2 separate regions of the Homo sapiens genome follow, and region 2 is linked to region 1. The links are contacts of gene promoters, found by promoter capture Hi-C in human tissues and cell types (Jung and others, 2019). All regions are on one chromosome and are shown on one strand. The core of a region is centred on a gene start or on the middle of the fragment in contact, and the rest is flanking DNA. Distances in the headings are between cores, read along the strand shown.

What was found. Contacts are between HindIII fragments. The study calls those that stand out against the background at their distance.
Region 2: a contact is called between a fragment that was not itself captured here and the fragment with the promoter of CYBRD1 in region 1, in 1 of the 25 tissues and cell types used here (H1 embryonic stem cells).

The regions. Positions count from the first base shown.
Region 1 is chr2:171,521,150-171,523,971 of GRCh38, reverse strand. CYBRD1 (cytochrome b reductase 1) reads right to left here and starts at 1,498. Exons shown (of 4, transcript NM_024843.4): 1 at 1,234-1,498. The coding sequence starts at 1,426. RefSeq lists silencers at 860-929, 1,080-1,189 and an enhancer at 1,300-1,409. The HindIII fragment of the contact is 9,103 bases long and covers 1-2,822 here.
Region 2 is chr2:170,980,643-170,983,342 of GRCh38, reverse strand. No RefSeq gene overlaps it. Among named protein-coding and RNA genes, the nearest start is that of GORASP2, 53 kb to the right of the region's middle. The HindIII fragment of the contact is 3,070 bases long and covers 1-2,700 here.

The sequences.
Region 1 (2,822 bases), core at 249-2,748:
CAGCCTGCCCGCAGGCAAAGCTAGAGATTTCGGCCAGTGGGCATATCTTTCCAAACCCTTGCTACTCCTCTCGATTATTTTCTGCGACATAACACCACTCCACCCCTTGCTGCCTTTCTCTAACTACTTTCTGAAGGCCGTGCCTTTGGGGAAGTGGTTACAAATAAATGGTGTTTGCGCCAAAAGCTAGAGGTTCCTCCAGCTACACGGCAAACCGAAGGAAGCAGTCAGGACATTGAGAGGCACTACACAATGACAACAAACATTGCCAGCGACTGCTGAGCCCCTCCCCCGCGCCAGCCTCAGCCCAGAGAATGCAGGCCCGGGGCTGGCTCGCCGCGGGCCAAACACGGACGCAGCTTGCGCCGGGGGCATCCCGAGCAGAGGCATCCCTCGGTGCCAGGCAGCCGCGGGCCCTCTCCGGGCATCTCCCACCCGGAGTGCTGGGCCAGTGCCCAATAGGAAGCCCCGCGGGGGAACTTTCGCCACTCTTCTGCCACATAAACAAGTCGGGCTCAAGACCGTCCAATGACTGGGCAGGGCGGCGAAACACACTTGGAAGTCCTGGCAGCTTCCCGGACTCGACTGAGTTTAACACTCTAGGAGGAGAGGAACCCAGGGCGGATGCTTCACTCGCCCCCCTTGGCCAGCCCCTTTACCCAGGGCCGAGGATGTTACAAATACGGGCAAATTCTCGCTCCGGCAATCTTTTCCCCGCTGCCTTCCCCTCCTCATCTGCAGCCTGGAAGCAAGTTCAGCAAAAGGCTGAGGCGAAAGTGTTTCCGCGCCCCCGATCGCGCAGGCTCGGTCCACAGGGGCGACTTTCCGGGGCGCGTGGGCTGCAGCGGCCCGACTGCGCGGCGCTCCGGCATCGCGCCCGGGCTCAAGTTTCTGGGTCTTGGAGGCCCCTCCAGTGCGTCCTAGCCAGTCGCCGCAAAGAGTTAACCAAGTGGGGCCGGCCCCGCTCCGCCGCCCCCAGCAGCGCGTCTCCACCGCGCACCCCCGGCCCCGCGCTCGCGGCGATCCTCCTGAACCGCAGCTCTGTCCCGCCCCAGAGCCAGCCAGCCTCCCTCCCGCCCAGCCGACTTGGCTTCCCGCGCGCTCCTCACCGCACTCCTCCGGGCCCCGCGATCCTCCAGCACTTCCTCAGCTGGAAGGGGCTTCACGGAGGACCCTCTGCCCCCGCCGTTCTCCCCGCTTTCCTCCCCGCACCCCCCCAGGAGGTGCCAGTACCGATGCCCTGGATGAAGACGAAGCCGGTGACCATGAGCACTGGGTGCCAGTTAAACTCTAGTGCGCTCCCATCCCAGCCAAGCCCCTCTCGGTAGTGGAGGACCCAGACGAGGGCGAAGATCACCGACAGGAAGCCGACGAGCAGTGCCGACCCCAGCAGCGCCAGGAAGCGCCAGTAGCCCTCCATGGCCATCAGCGCCCCATACTCCGCACCGCGGGGGCCACAAGAACTTGGAGAGGCGGCGGCAGCCCTCTGGGTAGTGGCCGGGCGGCGGGACCGGGGCGTCGACTTCTTGGGGCTGTCTCCGCCTGCGGGGAGGGACTTTCTGGGCTGCTGGCCCGGAATGTGGGGCCTCTTGGGGGTGGGGAGCTGGCCCCAACTCAGAAATGGGCCCCACCCCCGGGATCACGCGGCCGCCGAGGGCGCTCATTGCCTGGTGGCCTCACCCTCTCCCTCGTCCAGCATCCAAGCTCGCAGAGGGCTTCAGTAACAGACCTAGTTAGTTGCTCAAAGAGAAAATTCCGAGGATTTTATACTCACCACTTGCTTTTAACACTTCCCGTGTCTCGTCCTTATTTGTGGGGAGGTTGAGTAGGGCAGTGGTGCGCCCTCTTGGTTAAGAGAAGAGAGGGATCCGTTGGGTAGGGTTATGTGTGTGCTTTTAACTACTAACGAAGCCTCCTTAGCCACAGTGCTGGAGAATTGGCTGTCTCTGACATCAAAGGGTGTTAAGGAGGAACCTGTAAGGTGGTGTAAACTAAAAATAAAATCCTAAGCCCCTCACTGACTGAATGGACCTCCTTGGCCAAGCAGACCCCAGAAAAACCTTAAAGCTGAGTTTCTAGCTACAGCCGGAAGGGAAGTCTACCCCCTCCATTTTGGAATTTAGACTCAACAGCTGACTAGCATTAATGTTTAAAATAGAAATCATAAGGCGGACAGAACAGACTCTTTGTAGCAATAAGACATCAAATTATAAAAAGGACCTAAGTCACACACTCCTACACTTAAGAAATAAACTATGGTCTAACTGCCACAAAGGTTTTCTTTTCCTCTAGAGGCTAAACAAGCACTGGCTTGAGATAAGCAATATTAAAACAATTACAACTTAATCAGTTCACAGATGCTGACCAGCTGAACCCCTGTTGCACCAGCCAGAACTACAGCTTTCACTGGGCTGATTTCAGGAACTTTTTCATGATAAGAAGACCGACCATGGACCGGTTCTGGCCAGTGTACAGGGATTGTGCACTTGTATGCATTCACGTCCTGAAAAGACCTTTTGAAGTGTAGGTTTGAAGTAATACATTTAAATGTATTTGAAGTAATACAATTAAATGTTAAGTCTCCACCCCAAAGAGAACATGTTACATGCATGTTTGTTCAATATGCATGTGTAAGGACCACCTCCATTAATATTCATAGCTCCTCCTGTAACCTGTTACGTATGTATGTTTGGCCAAACTGTTCAGCATAAAGCTCCTACCCCAACCCCTCTGCCTTCCAAGTGCCTGTCTCTGGTCTTAGGCCAGAGGCTATGTTTATCAGCCTATGGAATGGCCTCCTTGCAGGCTATAACCTTTTATAA
Region 2 (2,700 bases), core at 5-2,504, 540 kb after region 1:
CCTGCATGTACACATCCAGATGGCTGGTTCCAGCCTTAACTGATGACATTCCACCACAAAAGAAGTGAAAATGGCCTGTTCCTGCCTTTACTGATGACATTGTCTTGTGAAATTCCTTCTCCTGGCTCATCCTGGCTCAAAAGCTCCCCCACTGAGTACCTTGTGACCCCCCACTCCTGCCCGCCAGAGAACAACCCCCCTTTTTCCTTTACCTACCCAAATCCTATAAAACGGCCCCACCCCTATCTCCCTTCGCTGACTCTCTTTTCGGACTCAGCCCACCTGCACCCAGGTGATTAAACGCTTTATTGCTCACACAAAGCCTGTTTGGTGGTCTCTTCACACGGACGCGAATGAAATTTGGTGCCATGACTCGGATCAGGGTACCTCCCTTGGGAGATCAATCCCCTGTCCTCCTGCTCTTTGCTCTGTGAGAAAGATCCACCTACGACCTCAGGTCCTCAGACCGACCAGCCCAAGAAACACCTCACCAATTTCAAATCGAGTAAGCAGTCTCTTTTTACTGTCTTCTCCAACCTCTCTCACTATCCCTCAACCTCTTTCTCCTTTCAATCTTGGCACCACACTTCAATCTCTCCCTTCTCTTAATTTCAATTCCTTTCATTTTCTGGTAGCGACAAAGGAGACACGTTTTATCCATGAACCCAAACTCCAGCGTCGGTCACGGACTGGGAAGGCAGGCTTTCCTTGGTGTTTAATCATTGCAGGGACACCTGTCTGATTATTCACCCACGTTTCAGAGGTGTCAGACCATGCAAGGATGCCTGCCTTGGTCCTTCACCCTTAGCGGCAAGTCCCGCTTTTCTGGGGGAGGAGCAAGTACCCCAACCCCTTCTCTCCGTGTCTCTACCCCTTCTCTGCTTTTCTGGGGGAGAGGCAAGAACCCCTCAACCCCTTCTCCCTCACCCTTAGCAGCAAGTCCCACTTTTCTAAGGGGCAAGAACCCCCAATCCCTTATTTCCATGCCCCGACCTCTTATCTCTGTGCCCCAATCCCTTATTTCTGCACCCTGACCTCTTATTTCTGTGCCCCATCCCTTATTTCCACACCCCGACCTCTTATCTCTGCGCCCCAACCCCTTATTTCCATGCCCCGACCCCTTTCACGCTTTTCTGGAAGTTAAGAACCCCCGAACCCCTTTCCTCCGTGTCTCTACTCTCTCTTTTCTCTAGGCTTGCCTCCTTCACTACGGGCAACATTCCACCCTCCATTCCTCTGTCTCCCTTCGCCTGTGCTCTCAAGAACTTAAAACCTCTTCAACTCACGCTGGACCTAAAACCTAAATGTCTTATTTTCTTCTGCAATGCTGCTTGACCGCAATACAAACTTGACAGTAGTTCCAAATAGCCAGAAAACGGCACTTTCAATTTTTCCATCCTGCAAGATCTAAATAATTCTTGTCGTAAAATAGGCAAACGGTCTGAGCTGCCTGATATCCAGGCATTCTTTTACACATCAGTCCCTCCCTAGTCTGTGCCCAATGCAACTCACCCCAAATCTTCCTTCTTTCCCTCCCGCCTGTCCCCTCAGTCCCAACCCGAAGTGTCGCTGAGTCTTTCTAATCTTCCTTTTCTACAGACCCATCTGACCTCTCCCCTCCTCCCCAGGCTGCTCCTCACCAGGCCAAGCTAGGTCCCAATTCTTCCTCAGCCTCTGCTCCTCCACCCTATAATCCTTTTATCACCTCCCCTCCTCACACCGGGTCCGGCTTACAGTTTCGTTCCATGACTAGCCCTCCCCCACCTGCCCAGCAATTTACTCTTAAAAAGGTGGCTGGAGCTAAAGGCATAGTCAAGGTTAATGCTCCTTTTTCTTTATCCCAAATCAGATAGCGTTTAGGCTCTTTTTCATCAAATATAAGAACCCAGCCCAGTTCATGGCTCGTTTGGCAGCAACCCTGAGACACTTTACAGCCCTAGCCCCTAAAAGGTCAAAAGGCCATCTTATTCTCAATATGCATTTTATTACCCAATCTGCTCCTGACATTAAATAAAACTCCAAAAATTAAATTCCAGCCCTCAAACTCCACAACAGGACTTAATTAACCTCGCCTTCAAGGTGTACAATAATAGAGGCAGCCAAATAGCAACATATTTCTGAGTTGCAATTCCTTGCCTCCACTGTGAGACAAACCCCAGCCACATCTCCAGCACACAAGAACTTCCCAACGCCTAAACCGCAGTGGCCAGGCATTCCTCCAGGCCCGCCTCCCCCAGAAGCTTGCTACAAGTGCCAGAAATCTGGCCACCAGGTCAAGGAATGCCCACAGCCCAGAATTCCTCCTAAGCCGTGTCCCATCTGTGCAGGACCCCACTGGAAATCAGACTGTTCAACTCACCTGGCAGCCACTCTCAGAGCCCCTGGAACTCTGGCCGAAGGCTCTCTGACTCCTTCCCAGATCTTCTTGGCTTAGCGGCTGAAGACTGACGCTGCCCGATCGCCTCGGAAGCCCCATAGACCATCACGGACGCCGAACTTTAAGTAACTTTCACAGTGGAGGCTAAGTCCGTCCCCTTCTTAATCAATACGGAGGCTACCCACTCCACATTGCCTTCTTTTCAAGGGCCTGTTTCCCTTGCCTCCATAACTGTTGTGGGTATTGACGGCCAGGCTTCTAAACCTCTTAAAACTCCCCAACTCTGTTACCAACTTAGACAATACTCTTTTAAGCACTCCTTT